Regions from separate parts of the Homo sapiens genome. Here all the other regions are linked to region 1. Evidence: promoter capture Hi-C in 16 types of primary human blood cells and fetal thymus (Javierre and others, 2016). All regions are on one chromosome and are shown on one strand. Each heading gives the region's core, a stretch centred on a gene start or on the middle of the fragment in contact. The rest is flanking DNA. Distances are from core to core; before and after follow the strand shown. Region 1 holds the start of MLKL (mixed lineage kinase domain like pseudokinase). Region 2 overlaps KARS1 (lysyl-tRNA synthetase 1). Region 3 holds the start of ADAT1 (adenosine deaminase tRNA specific 1). Region 4 overlaps CHST6 (carbohydrate sulfotransferase 6). Region 5 holds the start of CFDP1 (craniofacial development protein 1). Region 6 overlaps CFDP1 (craniofacial development protein 1). Region 7 overlaps CFDP1 (craniofacial development protein 1).

The links. Contacts are between HindIII fragments. The CHiCAGO score rates a contact against its expected background, and 5 or more counts as called.
Region 2: a contact is called between a fragment that was not itself captured here and the fragment with the promoter of MLKL in region 1, in 1 of 17 cell types (monocytes). The highest score is 8.8, in monocytes.
Region 3: a contact is called between the fragment with the promoter of ADAT1 here and the fragment with the promoter of MLKL in region 1, in 1 of 17 cell types (naive CD8 T cells). The highest score is 5.4, in naive CD8 T cells.
Region 4: a fragment that was not itself captured here is called in contact with the fragment with the promoter of MLKL in region 1 in 2 of 17 cell types (neutrophils and total CD4 T cells); the score reaches 5.7 in neutrophils.
Region 5: the fragment with the promoter of CFDP1 here is called in contact with the fragment with the promoter of MLKL in region 1 in 12 of 17 cell types (fetal thymus, activated CD4 T cells, non-activated CD4 T cells and 9 more); the score reaches 13.3 in fetal thymus.
Region 6: a contact is called between a fragment that was not itself captured here and the fragment with the promoter of MLKL in region 1, in 1 of 17 cell types (total CD8 T cells). The highest score is 5.5, in total CD8 T cells.
Region 7: a fragment that was not itself captured here is called in contact with the fragment with the promoter of MLKL in region 1 in 1 of 17 cell types (fetal thymus); the score reaches 6.9 in fetal thymus.

Annotation. Positions count from the first base shown.
Region 1 is chr16:74,699,481-74,702,370 of GRCh38, forward strand. MLKL (mixed lineage kinase domain like pseudokinase) reads right to left here and starts at 1,382. Exons shown (of 11, transcript NM_152649.4): 1 at 973-1,382. RefSeq lists an enhancer at 836-1,285. The HindIII fragment of the contact is 1,546 bases long and covers 86-1,631 here.
Region 2 is chr16:75,642,330-75,645,219 of GRCh38, forward strand. All of the region lies in intron 1 of KARS1 (lysyl-tRNA synthetase 1), which reads right to left. Among named protein-coding and RNA genes, the nearest start is that of KARS1, 3.9 kb to the right of the region's middle. The HindIII fragment of the contact is 3,555 bases long and covers 1-2,890 here.
Region 3 is chr16:75,621,892-75,624,781 of GRCh38, forward strand. ADAT1 (adenosine deaminase tRNA specific 1) reads right to left here and starts at 1,390. Exons shown (of 10, transcript NM_001324445.2): 1 at 512-1,390. RefSeq lists enhancers at 1-143, 144-663, 664-1,183, 1,065-1,304, 1,184-1,703. The HindIII fragment of the contact is 8,287 bases long and covers 1-2,890 here.
Region 4 is chr16:75,472,598-75,475,487 of GRCh38, forward strand. It overlaps CHST6 (carbohydrate sulfotransferase 6), which reads right to left. Exons shown (of 3, transcript NM_021615.5): 3 at 1-2,890. Among named protein-coding and RNA genes, the nearest start is that of TMEM170A, 9.4 kb to the left of the region's middle. The HindIII fragment of the contact is 3,555 bases long and covers 1-2,890 here.
Region 5 is chr16:75,432,151-75,435,040 of GRCh38, forward strand. It overlaps CFDP1 (craniofacial development protein 1), which reads right to left and starts at 1,353. Exons shown (of 7, transcript NM_006324.3): 1 at 1,139-1,353. The coding sequence starts at 1,202. RefSeq lists a silencer at 789-1,028 and enhancers at 1,339-1,848, 1,392-1,959. The HindIII fragment of the contact is 10,360 bases long and covers 1-2,890 here.
Region 6 is chr16:75,413,158-75,416,047 of GRCh38, forward strand. CFDP1 (craniofacial development protein 1) reads right to left here. Exons shown (of 7, transcript NM_006324.3): 2 at 1,421-1,538. Among named protein-coding and RNA genes, the nearest start is that of CFDP1, 19 kb to the right of the region's middle. The HindIII fragment of the contact is 362 bases long and covers 1,251-1,612 here.
Region 7 is chr16:75,393,700-75,396,589 of GRCh38, forward strand. It overlaps CFDP1 (craniofacial development protein 1), which reads right to left. Exons shown (of 7, transcript NM_006324.3): 5 at 1,391-1,510. Among named protein-coding and RNA genes, the nearest start is that of CFDP1, 38 kb to the right of the region's middle. The HindIII fragment of the contact is 193 bases long and covers 1,341-1,533 here.

The sequences.
Region 1 (2,890 bases), core at 132-2,631:
TGATCTACAAGGGAAGAAAGGGAATATACATATATACACACTTAGACTGGGCAATTTGAATTTCTAGGAACTTATGATGTAGAAAAGCTTGTGTTTGTAGATAGATGGCTACCGAGATGTTCACTGCAGTGCTATTTATAATATGTAAAACAAACAGCTAAGAATATGTTCAGGCCAGCTGCAGTGGCTCACACCTGTAATCCCAGCACTTTGGGAGGGTGAGGTAGGAGGATCACCTGAGCCCAGGAGTTTGAGACCAGCCTGGGTGACAAAGCGAGACCCTGGCTCTACCAAAAAATACAAAAAAAATTTAATTGGGTGTGGTGATGTGCACCTTGTAGTCCTAGCTACTTGGGAGGATCTGGTTGGAGGATCACTTGAGCCCATGAGTTCGGAGGCTGCAGTGAGCTATGATTGTGCCACTGCGCTCCAGCCTGGGCAACAGAGGAAGACTCCATCTCTCAAAATAAATAAATAAAAAGAAAAAGGGGATTATGTTCATATGTTACGATGAGAAAACAGGTTACTAATTTTAAAAGTGAAAAATCTTTAAATGGTAATAACAATGCAAATTCACCTCTTCCCTCCAAAAAATAAAAAATAAAAATAAAATAAAATAAGTAAAGGTTATCAGGCATTTCCCTCTTCTCTCTCTCTCACTCTGTCTCTCTCTCACGCCTTCAGCCTGCAAACCTGAAGACTTCCTTTTTCTGAGAAGACATCAGGTAACTTGTTCCCGTGCCCCTGCCCTCCACGACCCCCACTGCTACTGGGCGTCTCGCTTTGGCGGAAGGTAGTGCGAGATCCGAGCAGGCAGCTCCACCATCAGAGCTGAGGAAATGAAACCAACTCGGTCCTGAGTTCCAGGAACTCGGACCGGGCCACCCTCACCCCTGGTTCTTCCCATCACCGTCCAGGAATTCGGCTGCAGCCCCTCGGCCCCGCCGCCTCCTGGGAAGACCCCATGCTCACCTTCGCGCCTCCCGAGGGGTGTGCGTCCAATCTGTCCCGTGCACAGTTCCAAAAAGCTCGCTCTTCCACCTTCTTTCCCACGACCGCCTCCTGCCCAGGCGAGAAGTTTGCAAACGCGAGGCCCGCGGGAGTTCCCCTGCGCCCCCTTTCCTGGTGCCCGCACCCTGCACTCTGCTGACTGTACCGGACGCCACACGTGGCTGGCGGCGACAAGGCGCCCCGATCCCTACCTGAGGGAAACCCCGGCCACTGCAGCTGCACTTGAGCAGGGTCCCTCCACTCAGCCACTTGGATGGCTGTTTCTGTCCAGTGCCCTCCGGAGGCCACTGCCTCAGGTCTGTGATGCCTGCAGAGAATGCTGCGACACTTCCCCCTCCGACGTGGCTCCAGCTGCCAACCACCAGGCTCACGGTGCCCTGGCTCCCTGGAGCCGCTTTCTAGGCAGCTCGGAGCCACGGCCCCTCCCTTCCTTCCTCCTGTCCTTTCCACACTCTTCCTGCCTTCCCCAAAGTCACTGGGTAACTACGCTGTACACGTCAGTACCAAGCCTTCTTTAGGGGCTGGGGATTCAGAATAGAATAAGGTCCCAGCAACTATTATAACCAGGACACAGTATGAGAAGGACTGGAAGTTTAGAGAAAAACTGAAAGTTGGAGAGAAGCTTCTGGTGTTTGCTTCTCTGTGCTGGATAATATTGGCGGGGTGGGGAGGGTACGAGGGAAGAGACACCAAAGTGGGAAAAAAGTCACTTCCTCTTCTAAGGTCATTGCAGAACATCCTGTTACAGTGTGAGTCAGGTTTTCTTAAGATTAACTACATCTTCAGCTAGAAAGTCTAAGTAGTGTTATGCATTTACTCAACAGACTATTTGCCTCTAAAAGAACAGAACTGGGAGCTGGGTGTGGTGGCTCATGCCTGTAATTCCAGCACTTTGGGAGGCGGAGGTGGCCAGATCACCTGAGGTCAGGAGTTCAAGACCATCCTGGCCAACATGGGGAAACCCTGTCTCTACTAAAAATACAAAAATTAGCCAGGCGTGGTGGTGCATGCCTGTAATCCCAGCTACTCGGGAGCCTGAGAGGGGAGAATCGCTTGAAGCCGGCCTTGGAGATTCATTTCTTCGCCTTGCTATTGTTCTTCGTCTCCTGCATCATCAGTTTTCTTCCTGTCTTAGGTGAAGAGATTGAGGTGAGGCAGGAGAATAGGGTCTGCAGGCAGGGAACATAAAGCTGATTCACGCTGACTTCTTAGAACTAAATAAAATGGACACATTTCAGCTATGACAGGAAATATTTTCTTCATTTACATATGGCGTTCACTGAGTAAGTGACTGAGCAACTTCACTTCATCTTCTTCATTTACATAGGGTGTACACCAATTAACCAATGGGAGCCTCTAGAGGGTATTTAAATCCCAGAAAATTCTGTAACGGAGTTCTTGAGCCCCTATGCTCACGCTGGCTCCCACCCTGTGGAGTGTACCTTTGTTTTCAATACATCTCTGCTTTTGTTGCCTCATTCTTTCCTTGCTTTGTGCATTTTGCCCATTTCTTTGTTCAAGATGCCAAGAACCTGGACACCTTCAACAAGTAACACAGGTGCCTGTGATTTATTGAAGGAAGACTCTTAGGAGAGTGGTGGGTATGATAGGGCAGAGGAAGAAAAAGTGAAACAAGTATGTAGTCAGTGGAGGCTCCATGGGGAGGTCTGGAATGTGAAGGTCTGGAACAAGAGGCAGCCTCCTTTCTGCCCAGGGCAATTCTTCTGGACGAGGGGGAAGCTGTGTGAGTGTTTAGCTGTCAACACTCATAGCAGCTGCAGGATGGGTATACTGATCTGCTATAAACAAAATCATACAATGTATAACCTTTTGGAAGTTTTTTTCTTTTCTTTTCTTTTTTTTTTTTTTTACTGTCCCA
Region 2 (2,890 bases), core at 122-2,621, 940 kb after region 1:
GTAGCTGGGATTACAGGTGTGTACCACCACAGTCAACTAATTTATGTATTTTTAGTGAGACGAGGTTTCACCACGTTGGCCAGACTGGTCTCAAACTCCTTTCCTCAAGTGATCTGCCCACCTTGGCCTCCCAAAGTGCTAGGATTACAGGTGTGAGCCACCTGACCCCTCCAATGCCAGATCTAATACATGATAAGGCAACATCTCCAGCCCTCTGCTACCCCCTCTCTCTATCCCTCCCCTAAGAGTGAGTTAGGATGATAGTAAGGAAGAGCCGGCTCTTTAGCACTCAAGGAGACCTCCCCTACCAACAGTCTCTCCAAGAATGGCTGTCAGCATTAGTCTCACTTTGCCCACTGGAGCCTGACTTAGACAACAAAATAGAACGGTGTGCAAAGCAGTATAGTACAGGGGGTAATATACCATCTTTGTAGTCAGGCTGCCTGGGACTAAATTCCAACACACTTGTCAATTATGTGACTTGGACGAGTGAATTAACTTCTCACCTGTGAAACGAAAATAATAATAGACAACCCCCACCAGTTGTTATGGTGTGTAATGAGATAATGTTTGTATAAAGGGATTACCCTGACCCTGGCATTCAGCTAACCAAATGTGAGCTTTCTAGGTATCTTTTAGTATCTTAACCCTTTACTCTCTGTGCCTCATATAGATTTAAATACATTTCTGGTTAAATCACTTGGTATCCAAACTCTTGATACTTATCACTTGAACCTGAAAAACCAAAGTAATGCGGACAACTCTGAGCTGTTCTGTATGATATGTTCATGTCTCTTATAGTCTGAATTTGCTATCTGAAACCAGAAACTAAACAGATTGGTGTAGGGAGGGATATCTTTACTATTCAAAGACAATTTATGGATCATTCTTTCAAACCGCTGAACATAATCAAATATTCTGCAATAGTGAACCACAGCAGAAGATCCCAAGTCATGCCCGCAAACATTCTGGCTTCAGGACACATCCTTCATTTTCGATATGAATTTAGAATAACTTTAAAAAATGAATTGAGGTTTTGAATCTTTCACCTTTTTTTTTTTTTTTTGAGACAGAGTCTCGCTGTGTTGCCCAGGCTGGAGTGCAGTGGTGCGATCTCAGATCACTGTAAGCTCTGCCTCCCGGGTTCACACCATTTTCCTGCCTCAGCCTCCGGAGTAGCTGGGACTACAGGTGCCCGCCACCATGCCCGGCTAATTTTTTTGGTATTTTTAGTGAAGATGGGGTTTCACCGTGTTAGCCAGGATGGTCTTGATCTCCTGACCTCGTGATCTGCCTGTCTTGGCCTCCCAAAGTGCTGGGATTACAGGCGTGAGCCACCACGCCTGGCCGAATCTTTCATCTTGTAAAAAAGAAAAACAGATTCTGAATGGTTTCAAAGTTGACAGCTTTTTCTACATATAATGTCTTATAACATTTGTAAAGACAACCTTTCCAAAACACTGTGCTGGTGTTATCATGCTATAATTCAGTCAGTGGACTGCTAAGATTAGGCTGTCTAGTTCTTCTAGAATTAAGATAAATCTGTTTTCCACTCAACCAGGTGCTCCTCTTAAATCAAATCAATCTTAAGGATAATCCAAAAAGGTCCTAGGGATAGCACTAAGACTAGAAACCAAATTAATCTCAAGAGCACACAAAACTCCAGAAAGACAGAAAAGGGAAATAGCTGGCATTAGAAATTATTTGTTCAAACAAAGGTTTTGTTCTTAGCACTCTTCTAGAATAAGATCCACATGTCATCTCAAGACTCTAAGGAGAGACGATTTGAATTTATTAAAGAGAAAATGAGAAAGGACTATTGGTTTTGGTATTAGGGCTCCTTGTTTCCTTAGCAACAAGTCCAAAGACTTAGCCAGAGGCTTAACGGAAAATGAACCAAGTAAGGAAATAATTTTTGCTTCCAGAGCAATAAAGAAGGTAATGGGCACCAACCTTCTTTGATCAGAAAATGACTTGTCCTTGTGAGGCGCTGTGAAAGGAGCAAGTTGACCCAGTCGCAGTTCCCTGTGACCCCACTCTGCCCAGGAGGTTTTGCGCAGGGACCCCCTAACAAGCCTTACAGCAGCTTGCGTCAACATGGCAGAGCACCCTGGAACTAATGATTACCACCACCTAGCGGGAAACACAGAGATGTGGTGTCAGATGGGACAGACAGTATACATATACCCAACCAACTCTCTTATGGGTTGGGGAGGGGGACCATGCTTCTACTACCTTTTAGTCCCATTTAACTTAAGACTGTCTTAACTGATAGCAACCCTGTAACACTCTCTGTGCTACAACTGTAACTGACAATGTTCTTAGTCCTGACTATGGAAAAAACATGCATATCTGGGGTAAAGCCAACAGCAAGTTAATGGATAGCTTACAGGTAAAATTGCTCACAACATCCTAGAATATGGGAACAGGATGTGAGGCACTTTCTGAAGCCCTGAAGTGTGGTTTCTCACCTGGAGAGGAAATACCTGGCCACAAGATGGCAATAGGAAGCATATAAAATAAGAGGAAACTGTCACTATCAATTGCAAACTCTAGACAAAGATAAATGCAAGCCACACAAAAATACGTGTCAAAGAGAAGACTTGTTTGGAACTCTAGGAACAAGGGGAAAGGAGAATTTCAGGAAGGTCCTTAGACTGCGTTATGTTTATACATTATCAACACTGGAAGGCAACAGAATTACAGAGATCACCTTCTTTACCGTGTTCAAATAAATTTGAGGAGGCTATTTCACTCGGGCAGGGAGCACATCTGCTTTTAAACTTGGAGTCAATACCTGGCACAAAATGGTGCTTACTAAAAATTTCAGACCAAGGAATTCCCCAGAACAATAAACGGAAGGAAATGTTAATCAGAAAAAAATTATTTT
Region 3 (2,890 bases), core at 140-2,639, 920 kb after region 1:
CTGTAAAACCAAACTGAAGGCCGGGCGCGGTGGCTCACCTGAGGTCAGGAGTTCGAGGCCAGCCTGGCCAACGTGGTGAAACCCTGTCTCTACTGAAAATACAAAAAAATTAGCCGGGCGTGATGGCGCGTGCCTGTAGTCCCAGCTACTCGGGAGGCTGAGGCAGGAGAATCGCTTGAACCCGGGAGGCGGAGGTCGCAATGAGCCGAGATTGTGCCACTGCACTCCAGGCTGGGTGACAGAGCGAGACTCCCTCTCAAAAAAACAAAAAAGGCTTTCCTGAGCTCCAGTGCATGCAGCTTTTGAAAGATGGTATTGTTATGAATCCCCTGCAGCGCAACGTGCAGGCTCGCTACTGTAGTGAATGCTACTGGTAAATCAGACCACAGTGATTTAAAACAAAAATCTGCAGGAAGTGAGACCCTGTGACTTGAAAGTCAGAGGGCCAGGGCAAGCCTTGTCAAGAAAAGAAAGCATGAGATCCTAGAATCCTCGTTTGGAAGGGACTCACCTCTCATTTCTAGGGAGGCATCACAAGGCAGTATAGTTTATGAAGACCACCTGGCCATCGACCTGAAATTAAACCAGAGGTGCAATTCACAAACCTCGATAGGCAAGGCAGGTAGAAGTTGCCAGAAGAAACAGTGACTCTCTTTAAGATGAAGCAGCCCAGAACGGCATCATCTCACTCAGGTAGTGCGTCTGAATGAGCATGCACAATTGTTTAAATGAATAAATGTTTTGCTACACTGGGTCCATTATAATTCGAGCCTACACCCCCTCCTAGATCTTGAAAACTTGAAGAACTTCTTAGCTGAAAATAACAGCTCAGCTAAACAGGCATTTATTTGCCCACAAGACCGCATCTCTGAACAGTTTCAACAAGCTAAAAAAACTGACGTCCTTTCCAAAGAAAAGGAAGTCGGCTGCCAGGGGAGAAAAGGCTTCAGCGATGCTTGGAGGAAGGGACTCTGGTTTACGCTGGCTCCCTTCCTAAACACTTCCGGAAGCAGAGCCCCTTCCCGGCCGCTGGAGAAGCCTGGGTGGGACCCCGAGTCGGCCAGTTACAGGATAGGAGGTGCCAGGCAAGGCACTGAAGCCATGCAGTGAGAACAGCGTGAGCGCCTGATCCATTGGGTCCTGCGGCTGCCAGGCCAGAGGCCCCGCGCCAGGAGCTCTTCAGGCGCCGGCTGCTGACAGTTCCAGGCGTGGAGCGCCTTCCCACGTGAAACGCGTCCCGGAAGATACGATCCTCACAACCTCTTCCCTCAAAAACAGACTCGGCAAAGTTAGCCCGGATAAACCTGCCCCGTCGCCCCAGCGCCTCGCGGACGCTCCCCTCCCACCTTCAGGAAACGCGCCTAGAAGAAAGCGAGCTTAATCCGCCGGTAAGGCGGACGTGACGTCACAAAGCGCCGGTTCCTTTCGGCTCCCGCTCCCAGAGGCGCGCAGTGCATGCCGGGCCCTGTAGTTTTTCCGGGGAGTCGGTGCCAGGGCCGAGATTCCCGCGCTTCAAGTCCCGCAGCCCTGGCTGCGTCTTAGAGAGGCGTGAAACCGGATGATGGGAGCCGCTTGTTGGCTTAGATATTCCTTCAACTAGAATGACGTATCTTGCAGCACTCGGCTGAATTTTTTTCTTTTTCTTTTTTTTTTTTGAGACGGAGTCTTGCTCTGTTGCTCAGGCTGGAGTGTAGAGGCGCGATCTCGGCTCACTGCAACCTTCGCCTCCCGGTTCAAGCGATTCTCCTGACTATGCTGTATTTCTATCTGTAACATCACTGTCCAATAGATATATAATTCGAACCATATACGTAATTTAAAAATTTCCAGTAGCCTCATTAAAAGTCAAAATAGAAACAATCATATATATTTTATTTAACCCATACATCCCAAATAGTATTATTTCAACATATAATCAAAAAATTTTTTGAGATGGAGTCTCGCTTTGTCGCCCAGGCTGGAAGCGGCGCAATTTCGGCGCACTGCAACCTCCGTCTCCTGGCTTCAAGCGATTCTCCTGCCTCAGCCTCCCAAGTAGCTGGGATTACAGGCGCCCGCCATCACACCCGGCTCATTTTTGTTATTTTTAGTAGAGACGGGGTTTCGCCATGTTACCAGGCTGGTCTCGAACTCCTGACCTCAAGTGATCCGCCCGCCTCAACCTCCCAGAGTGCTGGGATTACAGGCGTGAGTCACGATGCCCGGGGTCGGTCTGTCTGTCTCATATATATATATATATATATTTTTTTTTTTTTTTTTTTTTTTTTTGAGACGGAGTCTCGCTCTGTCACCCAGGCTGGAGTGCAGTGGCGCAATCTCTGCTCACTGCAAGCTCCGCCTCCCAGGTTCACGCCATTCTCCTGCCTCAGCCTCGCGAGTAGCTGGGACTACAGGTGCCTGCCACCACGTCAGGCTAATTTTTGTATTTTTAGTAGATACGGGGTTTCACCATGTTAGCCAGGATGGTCTCGATCTCCTGACCTCGTGATCTGCCCGCCTCGGCCTCCCAAAGTGCTGGATTACAGGCGTGAGCCACCGCACCTGGCTGCCGAGTCTCAATATTTTAAAAAATACTTATGTTCTGTTCTGTTTTTAATGCGAAGTTTAAGAAATCTGGTGTGTGTTACACTTAGAATACATCCCAATTTGGATCAGCCACATTTCAGATGCTGGATAGTCACATGTGGCTACTGGCTACTGTAGTACAGTACTACTACAGTGTAGTGGGCAGAACAGGTCTAAAAACCTTTGGATTGCCGGGAATAAGTAATATAGCTGCCTGGATACTTCAGGGGCCTTTGTCACCCAGTAACTGAATGCTCTATTACTAAAAATGAAAGAATTCATTTTTCTTTGTTACCCCTCAAAAATTTATGCAACTTGCTCAACC
Region 4 (2,890 bases), core at 212-2,711, 770 kb after region 1:
AGAGGTGATGGGGCAGTTGTGGCAGTGGTGGGGCGCAGTCTGTAGGAGTGGGTGACAAAGGCACATCAAAGACAAAGCTAGGGGACACAGGGTCTGTGGTGGCCATGAGGAGTTGATACAGTGTTGATGTGGATAATATATCTTCTTGATGCAAAATAACAAAAATAAGGCCCACCATTGATTCCCCAACAGCCTCTTGATAGGTGGGTTCTCTGACCTATTCCAGGCAACACTGTTTCTATGCACCCATCAGCCCATCTAGTGCTTTGATTGCCCCTTCTGAGCTCCCACAGCCAGAGCAGAGGCAGCAAGCGTGCCTGCCCCTAATTGTGGGTGACTGCTGGGCCTAGACACTTCTAGCTGCATCACAGGGCCTACAGGTAAGGGGAGACACTAATTACAGCCCTACCAGCAGGGAGGGAGCCTGGACCCTGGTGGAAATTGGAAGCTGCAGGTGCCAGGAGCCCTCCGTTCTCAAGTGTATCGGTTAGGCAATGCTACGTAACAAACCACCACAACACTCAAATGACTGAAACACAATAAGCACTTTTATTGCTCCTAAAGTCTTCGACTTGGCCGCAGTGCTGGGCTCAGCTGGCCTCGCTCATATGTCTTTATAGCTACTCTTCTCAAGTGGTGGACTCAGTTTCCCCACCTCTGAATCTGGGTGAGCCCTGGGACTCCCTTTGGCCAGTAGAAGGTAGCCGAAGTGGCTGCGTGCGGATCAGCTGGAGCTGGCTGGTCTAGGATGGCCTGGTTTGGGACCCCTGAACTCTCCTTCTCATGGTCTCTGCTTGTCCAGCAGGCTGGCCTGGGCTTTCTCCCGGGCAGAGGCGGAGGTCCGAAGCAAAGGAGCAGCACGCAGGTTCTCTTCAGGTGGAGGAAAGCAGAGGCGTCAGCTCAGACTATGCCTTTTTCACATAAAAAATGATTTTCAGCTGAAGGCAATTAAGAAGCAGAAAGTGCAGGAAAAGTTCAGGTTTCCCTCCCCTTTTCTGCCTAAAGGCACGATATAAACTCTCCATCACTGGACACAACCCTTGACTCAGAGGTGGTACCAGAGGCTGCTGCAGACAAATCCTGTTGCATCAGCTTCCTCTCGGATATTTACCATCCCATAGTTTACCACCTTTGGAAGCCTAAAACTGTTGTCCTTGGTCATCCTATCTCTACAAATTTATTGTATTTTTTAAAAATGCTGTGTAAGACAGTGTTCCAAGCCATCACTTTGTTACTTTTCATTGAGGCTTATCCTGAGTGATGTTGGCTGCCTGTGTTAACAAACTGTTTTTCGCCAGGTACAGTGGCTCATGCCTGTAATCCTAGCACATTGGGAGGCCAAGGCAGGTGGATCACCTGAGGTCAGGAGTTCCAGCCCAGCCTGATCGACATGGTGAAACCCCATCTCTACTAAAAATACAAAAAAAATTAGCCGGGCGTGGTGGTGTACATCTGTAATCCCAGCTACTCGGGAGGCTGAGGCAGGAGAATCGCTTGAAACTGGGAGGCGGAGGTTGCAGTGAGCCAAGATGGCGCCACTGCACTCCAGCCTGGGGGACAAGAGCAAGACTCTGCCTCAAAAAAACAGAAACAAAAACATTGTTTTTCTTTGTGAATCTGTCTTTTCATTAAAAAGTCTCTCTTAATCTGTTTTGTTTTGCTATAACAATACCACAGATGGGGTCATTTATTTAGAGATAGGTGTCTTGCTCTGTCACTCAGGCTGGAGTGCACTGGCATGATCATGGTTCAATGTAGCCTCAACCTCCCAGGGTCAAGCAGTCCTCCCAACTCAGCCTCCCAAGTAGCTAGGACTACAGGTGCACGACACCATGCCCTGCTAATTTTTTTTTAACTTTGTAGAGATGGGGTCTCACTATGTTGCCCAGGCTGGTCTTGAGTGCCTGGTCTCAAGTGATCCTCCTGCCTCAGCCTTGCAAAGTATTGGGATTACAGGCGTGAGCCACTGAACCCAGCAAGGGTCATATATAATAAATAGAAGTGTATTGGCTTACAGTTCTGGAGGCTGGGAAGCCCAAGATCAAGGAGCCAGCATCTAGCGAGAGCCTTCTTGCTGTGTCCTAGCATGATGGAAGGCATCATATGGCAGAAGGGCAAAGTGAGGGCGAGAGAAAGACAAAGAATGAACTCCTTCATTTAAAAGGCACCACTCTCAGGATAACCAACTCACTCCTGAAATAATGGTGGTTTTTTTTAAGACAGACTCTCGCTTTGTTGCCCAGGCTGGAGTACAGTGGTGCGATCTCAGCTCACTGCAATCTCTGCCTCCTGGGTTCAAGCGATTCTCCTGTCTCAGCCTCCCAAGTAGCTGGCCTTACAGGCATGTGCCACCACACCTGGCTAATTTTTGTATTTTAACTAGAAATGGTGTTTTACCTTGTTGGCCAGGCTGGTCTCAAACTCCTGACCTCAAGTAATCCGCACACCTCAACCTCCCAAAATGCTGGGATTACAGACATGAGCTACCATGCCTGCGCCCAGAAATAATGTTCTCTACCCATTCACAAGGGCATAACCCGCACGGCGTAATTTACTTTCCATCAAGCCTCACCTCACAACACTGGGGATCAAGGTTCCAACTTTGGGAGACACAATCAAATCACAGCAGAGCCCCAGCTGAAAACCTAAGACAGGTGGAGGTAAAGTTTTGCTTCCAAGGCCTATGCTTCAAACTGGCTCACAGGAAGTTGCACTACACTTGTCTACAGGACAAAGCAAGTCACAGGACCAGCCTGGATTCAGAGGTGGAGAAACAGACTCTACTTCTTGATGGCAGGAGCCATGGTCACACAGCACAGAGTGTCAACACAGCAAACCACTAACAGTGGTCAATGCAGTCACCCCCACAGCAACCCAGAGCTCTGTGCCC
Region 5 (2,890 bases), core at 103-2,602, 730 kb after region 1:
CCACCCACCTCAGCCTCCCAAAGTGTTGGGATTACAAGCATGAGCCACCGCGCCAGGAATGGAATGGCTAGTTTTCAACGTGCCTTTTAGAAATACTTCACTAGCCGGGGCGCGGTGGCTCATGCCTGTAATCCCAGCACTTTGGGTGGCTGAGGTGGGAGGATCACTTGAGCCCACGAGTTCGAGACCAGCCTGGGCAACATAGCAAGATGCCATTTCTAAAAAAAAAAAAAAAAAAAAAAATTTAAAAAATTAGCGGGCGTGGCAGCCTGCACCTGCAGTCCCAGCTACTCCAGAGGCTGAGACGGGAGGATCGCTTGAGCCCAGGAGTCTGAGGTTGCAGTGAGCCAAGATCGCATCACTGCACTCCAGCCTAGACAACAGCAAGACCCTGTCTTTAAATAAAACAGAACAGAACAAAGTAAAACAAAGAGAATAGGGACGACTCCTGGGTTGTGTTTTGTTAGTCTGTTTGTTTCTTGTTTGTCTAGTCTTTCAACTGAAGATGTGAATGGGTGAAGATACTTTCAACGAGACGGTTTGTCTGGGGAAGACCAAGAAGGGGGAACAGAAAGATTTCTTCAGTAAGATTCATTCTCACCCCGTTCGGGTTGAGATCCCTAAGGAAAGAAAGTTCTGAGAGGAGAGGATGGGTGGACGTCACAATGAGGCAAAAAGCATCAAAGGGGGAACTTTCTATCAGAACTTTCTAACAACCAGGCGGAGAGCGGACAGCTCTATCTTGGACGGGGTGGTGGCCAGCAGCTCTCTCGGGCCAGGGCTGAAAAAAACCTCCAAGGCTCGGACTGCCGCCCCGACTTCTGAAGCAGCGGTGTCGTTCGGGGCTGACCGACGAGCGTCCCTAGCGACAAGGGGCCGTGTCCATGTGCCGGTTCCCGCGCTGCAAGAGGGGGCGGCGGCCGGAGCTGCCCAACGGGAGGGGAGCACAGAACCGCCACGCGCACACGCCTCGGGCCGGAGCGGCCGAGGATGAGGGGCCTGAGGGAGCGGACGCTCGAGAACAGGAGCCCCCCTGGACCACCTGGGCCACAGGGCAGACGCCCGCGGGGGCAGAGCGCGCCTCACGTGAGGCGTGGGGCGGGGCAATTCGCTTCTCGCCTCAGGCGGAATCGCTCACCCGACGGCACGTAGTCCTCGTCCTCCTCCGACGTAGAGAAGTCTTCGGAGTCGAATTCCTCCATGTTGCTGCCGCTCGACGCTGGTCAAACTCACAAGACCGCAGCAGCCGCCTCCAACGGCAAAGCTCTAGGGAGAGACCATAGAGCCCCGGCGGCGGCGACGGCAGCTAGGGCGGCCCCCGACAGCGCTTTGCACATGCGCAGAGAGTACTACGTGGTTGCCCTACGACACTTCCGGCCGATGCCTCCGGGCTGGCGTCCCTGAAGCCCTCGCTGGGAGCCCGAACCCGCCCGGACGCGGTGCATGCTGGAACTTGTAGTCTTCGGCGCTGCCTCGCCGCCTTAATATAATAAACCTGCTTAAATAAAATTACATATCTATGGAAATACAGGTGACCTTCATTAATCATTAATTCGTAATGCCAAATTCACTTACTTGCTAAAATGTATTTGTAACCCTAAAATCAATCATCACGGTACTGTCTGGGGTTCTTCCCGGGCATGCGCAGAGGGTGAAAATTTGGAGTTGGCGGAGGTAAGGTTCCCAGCTGAAGTTTGAACTGGGAGAAGCGCCGCCTTCTAGTCGCAGCTCCTGTGCTGTAAACAAAGAGTCCTTTCCGCAGTCTGTTTACTGACACTTTTTTTTCTGCTTTTTGTGGGTGGTTTTGCTTTCTAAAATGGCCCCCAAGCGTAGTGCTTAAGCTCTGCCCAGTGTTCCTAAGCGAAAGAAGACCGTGATGTGCCTTACGGAGAAAGTCCGCGTGTTGGATAAGCTCCAATCAGGCATGAGTTACAGTGCTGTTGGCCATGAGCTCAATGTTAACGAGTCGACAATCCGGTACATCAAGAAAAAGGAAAAGGAAATTCACCGATCTGTCCGTGAGGCCGCTCCGGATAGTGCTGAAGTGACCTCCATCGTGCGTGATGAAGCTATGACAAAGATGGAAAAGATGGAAAAGCGGCTAAATTTGTGGATTCATGAGATGTCAATCGATTAAAAAAAACATAGTGGACAGCATTGTGGTGAGGCTGAAAGCCAAAGATATCTGTGGTCACGTTACCCAGAGTCAAAGAAATGCTAAGCCCTTCTCGGCGAGTGCTGGCCGGCTCGCGCGTTTCAAAAGGCGATACGGGGTGAAAAATGTTAAACTTGCAGGTGAGGCGAGCTCTGCAGATCAGGAGGCTGCGGAAGAATTTTAAAAATACTTGCTAAGTGTTATACAGGAAAAGGGTTATGTGAAAGAGCAGGTTTTCAATGCGGATGAGACTGGCTTATTTTACAAGGATGTTGGCAAACGAACCTATATAATGCAAACGGCCTCCAAAGCCCCTGGCTTTAAATCATGCCAGGATCATGCACCCTTGTTATTGTGCGCCAATGCCAAGAGCGACTAAAGTGCAAACTCCTAATGGTGTAAAGAACCCAAAATCCACAAGCACTTAACGGGAAATACGTGAACCATCTGCCAGTCTATTGGAGGTGGAACAAAAAAGTGTGGATGATGTCTGATTGGTTCCACAACTGCTTCATCCCAGAAGCTGAACACTGTCTCCAGGGCAGAAACCTTGCCTTCAAGGGTTTTTTGTTTTGTTTTGTTTTGTTTTTTGTTTGTTTGGGTTTGTTTTGTTTTGGTTTGGTTTTGAAACGGAGTCTCGCTCTGTCGCCCAGGCTGGAGTGCAGTGGCGCAATCTCGGCTCACTGCAAGCTCCGCCTCCCGGGTTCACGTCATTCTCCTGCCTCAGCCTCCCGA
Region 6 (2,890 bases), core at 182-2,681, 710 kb after region 1:
CTATTTAGAAGAGCCTCAACTTTATTTGCACTATTTCTTCCAAGAGTTCTCAAGGAAAAAGAAAAAAATCCATGTTTCTTCCCACTTTCGGAAGAACTGAGAGCTGGAACATAGAAAAATTCAAGGACAGGCCAGGCGCAGTGGCTCACACCTGTAATCCCAGCACTCTGGGAGGCCAAGGCCCACACAGAGATTCCACTACCTTTTTTCTCTTTTACTTCATATAAACTTTCATCACAACAAGATGAGAAAATTAGCCGGGCATGTTGGTGGGTGCCTATAATCCAGCCACTCGGAGGCTGAGGCAGGGAACTGAACCCAGGAGGCGGAGGTTGCATTGAGCAGAGATCACGCCACTGCACTCCAGCCTAGGCAACAGGGCGAGACTCTGTCTCAAAAAAAAAAAAAAAAAAAAAAAATTCAAGGACAAAAAAACTGGGCCCAAGACTTATAAGAGTATATTGCTTCTTAGACTATTTTGACTTTAGGTGAATCAATCTAATATCTACATTCTTTTTTCTTTTTCATAAATGATAATCTGCTTTTTGCTTCAATGCCCAGGAAGACAGAAACACCCAAGTGAGGTAAAAGACTTCTATGGAAGATGCCCTTATCTAAGTTAAATAACCTGTCAGAATTTTCATAATTTTCATGGGAAAAGAAGCCCATACCAGGCCTATGCCAGGCAATGGGCTAATATCTGTATTTTTAAAATTTAATTGCATATATAACCTTAGATCAAACAATTCCACTTCTAAATGTTACATTTACAGATATATTTATACATGTATACATTATATACATTTATATATTTATGTATACTTTGTATACATGTATACAAAGAATATTCACTGCACTCTTCTTTGTTGTAGTAAAGACTAGATACAATCTAAACATCCCTCGATACAGGAAAGCCTAAATAAAGTAAGGCCTATTCACATAACGTAATACTATGAAAAGGAGGAGATACTGCCATGGTACTATCTCCAAGATGTGAAATAAAGAGAAATGAAAATGAGAAAGTGAGTATGCTACTATTTATATTTTTTTTCTAAAAAAAAAATGAAGAAAATATAGACATATATGCATTTGCATGCACAGACTATCTCTGGTAGCATAGTTCTTCAGAGGCAAAGCAACAAGGTCTAGGAACAGGGTAAACATCTTTTCAGGGACTGAATTTTCTGTTCTAACCATATGTACATATTACCTATTAACATTTTCTTTACATTAAAGCTCAAAATGTTTAAAGCTTTCCAGAGACCAAGAAGTTAATCCTAAAATAACAGCAAATGTTTCCCTCAAAGAGAAAAGGGTTAGAAACTCTGGCTTCATTAAATCTATCATGAGACCAATCTTAGCAATCAGGATGGTTGTGACAATAGCCCCTAACTTCTAAGGGCCTTGAAGGCAGCATCACCTGGCTGGAATGCTCTGGGCCTTTCTTTTTTTCCCTTGGGTTTTCTGTGTCTGCTCTTCACCATCCACTTCATCTTCCTTCACTAATTCATTTACATCATCTTCACTATACTCTCCACCTGAAATCACATAACAGGGTGATCAGACAGGAATAAAGGTTTTCACATCAAGATGAGACATTTTCATTAATACAAGCTTTCACACCGAGACATTTTCATTAAGAAAAAGTGAATTTTCCCCTACTCTTCACCTAACGAAAACATCATTTCCTTGGGGAAGTCTTCTCTGCCCCTGAAGACTACCCTACGTTCTTCTATCGTAGGCTTCCATGGCAGTCTCTATTTCCCCTCCAAAACTCATCCCACTTATATTTAATGTTGGTAATTTCTGCTGTGCTGTATACTCCAAGAGGACATAAACCCTGTTCATTGTGACTTTTAAGTATTCACTAAATGAATGAGTGAATGAACAGAAATTTCAATTCTACTAATGTGTTTCTCAAAGAAGAAACTGATGCACTACCTCATCTTGGGTATCTTTCAAATCTAATTTAAAAAACACTTTGTCTTCTCAATAAAAGAAGTTTAAAAGGAAACCTAAAGACTTCCAGTTAAACATAGCAGAAAGAACAAACACACCCATGTCCCATTGTCAGACACTGACATTCAAGGGTCCCCAACAAAAGAGTGTTGCTTGGATGTCTGACCACATGCTGTGGGTACCAGTCAATAAACCAACCCTGCCCACACAGAGATTCCACTACCTTTTTCCTCTTTTACTTCATATAAACTTTCAATTGAAGTGTACATACCAAAAAGCACACAAATCTAATATACAGTTCAATGGAATGACACACAGTGAACACACTTGCATAACCAGGGCCCCAGCTCGAGGAACTGAACATTAGCAGCATCCCAGAAGGCCCCCTGTGCTCCCTTCCAGTCACTAACAACTGCCCTACCCCTAAAGGGAACCAATATCCTGACTTCTAAAGTCACGGGTTAGTTTTGCCTGCTTTTCAACTTTCAACAGAAGCCTGCAGTGTGTACTCTTCTGTGTCTGGCTTCTTTTATTCAACATTATGTTTGTGAGAGTCACCCACATTGTTGCAGTGTAGCTGTAGTTTATTCATTCTCACTCCTGAACAGTAAATAGTGTGTCATTGTATGACTATACCATAATCCGTTTATTCATTCTACTGCTGATGCACAACTAGGTTGTTTCCAATTTGGAGTCATTACAAACAGTACTGTTGTGATACTCCTGTGCATCCAATCAGCTTTATTTATTTATTGAGACGGAGTCTTGCTCTGTCACCCAGGCTGGAGTGCAGTGGCGCGATCTTGGCTCACTACAACCTCTGCCTCCCAAGTTCAAGCGATTCTCCTGCCTTGGCCTCCTGAGTAGCTGACATTACAGAAGTGTGCCACCACACCCAGCTGATTTTTATACTTTTAGTAGAGATGGGGTT
Region 7 (2,890 bases), core at 187-2,686, 690 kb after region 1:
CGCAGTCCGGCCTGGGCGACAGAGCGAGACTCCGTCGCAAAAAAAAAAAAAAAAAAAAAAAAAAAAAAAAAAAAGTGGGGCCGGGCCCGGTGGCTCACGCCTGTAATCCTAGCACTTTGGGAAGCCAAGGAGGGCAGATCACGAGGTCAGGAGATCAAGACCATCCTGGCTAACACAGTGAAACCTCGTCTCTACTAAAAATACAAAAGATTAGACGGGCGTGTTGGCACCTGTAGTCCCAGCTACTCAGGAGGCTGAGGCAGAAGAATGACATGAACCCGGGAGGCGGAGCTTGCAGTGAGCCGAGATTGCGCCACTGCACTGCAGCCTGGGTGACAGAGCGAGACTCCACCTCAAAAAAAAAATGTGAAACAAAACTTTACTGCTCATAGCAATGACAGGTATGCTCCAGGAGGGAAGGAAGAGGGGACAATATCTGACTGAAGGGCCACAGAAGCCACTGTAGGAGACTATGCAGAACTCCCCACAGGAGTCAGGTGGGTAGTCAGGGCTATCCATGGTATGGGTCTATGTTCACTTCCCTGTGGCAACAGTCTTAAGCCTCTCTGATTTACTGTAATACTTTACTTCTCACATTTAGGTTAAGAAAAGAATTTTTACTTCTTCCAAAAAGAAAGAATTCTAGCCTTCAGCTAAAAATAACTCAAGTAATATGAAAAATATGAAGGGAGGAAAACCATTAAGTTCCTGACAATGTGTTAAGAAAACTATTTGTAAATCATCTTTGATCTTTTTATGTTCCTCTAAGATCACAGAGGATGGGAGTGAGTGTTCATCGCAAATCTTCATGAAAAGTTCTGCAGAAGGCTGATATTTTCATTTGAAAAGTATTATTTTTAAATGTAAAATTTACACGTTCAGCTTTGTGTTCAATACTATAAACTAGGACTTCTTTTAGGCTGGCAACAAATAAGAAAGCTACAACTAATTTTCTTCGCTTTTTTTTTTTTTTTTTTTTTTTAAGAGACAGGATCTCTCTGTCACCCAGGCTGGAGTGCAGTGGCACAATCACGGCTCACTGCAGCCTCAACCTTCTGGGCTCAAGGGATCCTCCTGCCTCAGCCTCCACAGTAGCTAGGACAGAGGTGCAAGCCACCATGCCCAGCTAATTTTTTTTTTTTTAAGAGACAGGGTCTTACTGTATTGCCCAGGCTGGTCACAAACTCCTGGGTTCAAGCAATCCTCCTGAGAAAGTTATGGCTAATTTTCCTTTGCATCTTCCATTCTGGTAAATATTGCAGCAAAGGCAAAGCAGCATCATAATTCTCTCTCTCAGGCAAGGAGTCTGATCTGCAGCGAAAGTAGGTATTTGCACTGAAAGCTTCTCCAACGTGCCAAGTACATCAGGGAGTGAGACTCAAATACTCACCCTGACCCGGCAGGGAGTGATGGCAGAGCTGAAGGAACATTAGCCTGTGGTTTTTCTTTCTCATTCTGCTTGAAGAAGGATTTGGCCTCTTTAGATGTAGCATCCACTTCCTTAGTTACCCTGTGCCAAGGAAAAAGACATCAAGCTTACAAGAAGAATAAAGAGAAAGAAACAAGCTAGAAAAGGGAATAAAGACAACTAGAAAAAGATCCACTCGGCTTCCAATAAATTCTGGACGCTCAGCATTATGATAAAAGTTTACTATAACTTTCAATAAAGACATTTGCCCAGCCGGGCGTGGTGACTCACGCCTGTACTCCCAGCACTTTGGGAGGCCGAGGCAGGCGGATCACAAGGTCAAGAGATCGAAACTATCCTGGCCAACATGGTGAAATCCCGTCTCTATTAAAAATATAAAAATTAGCTGGGCGTGGTGGCGGGCGCCTGTAGTCCCAGCTACTCGGGAGGCTGAGGCAGCAGAATCACTTGAACCCGGGAGGCAGAGGTTGCAGTGAGCCGAGATCACGCCATTGCACTCCAGCCTGGGCAACAGCACGAGACACCGTCTCAAAAAAATAAAAAAAATAAAAAAACATTTTCCCTCACTAAAATTAACAAATGAAACAACAATGTGTATAAATTTTATCACCCTATAACAACCCAAAGATGAAACAAAATCCCCTAAAACTGGCTAAATTAGCAATAATTTGGGAATGGACGAAAGCAACATGACTGAGAATTTTGTCTAATTTCAAATCTGAAACAATTATCTTCACTAAAACTGAGTCCTAAAGGTTCAAATAAAGGTGTTTATGGTACCTGAGAATTCAGATAAAGAGAGAAGGAGAAATGTTTAATCCCTGCCTAGGCTTTCCAGGTTAACGAAAACACCTGAGGAATGTTGTTTAAATGCAGTCCATCTCCCCTCCATGACTTCTCAGCATGAAACACACTGCAGCAGTCAATACTAAATCTCCATGCTGGTTTACTGATGTGAAGGCTGAAAAAGGCCCTCACACTGCACCCCACATGCAGATTAGCACTCAGCCTTGAAAGCTGAGATGGGGAGATGGAATACTGGGAATATAGGTTATAGAATTGGGAAATAATGCCTAGGTTGGCACTATTTCAAGGAGAAAAACAAGAGTTAAAAAAAAAAATTTGAGGAGACCAGGCACAGTGGCCCATGCCTGTAATCCCAGCACTTTGGGAGGCCAAGGCAGGCGGACCACGAAGTCATGAGTTTGAGACCAGCCTGGCCAACATGGTGAAACCCTGTCTCTACTAAAAATACAAAAAATTAGCCAGGCATAGTGGCAGGCGCCTGTAATCACAGCTACTAGGGAGGCTGAGGCAGGAGAATTGCCTGAACCCAGGAGGTGGAGGTTGCAGTGAGCTCAGACCACGCCACTGCACTTCAGCCTGGGCAACAGAGCGAGACTCTGTCTCAAAAATAAATAAATAAATTGAGAAGACTCTGCAGAAGGCTCCTGTTTTATA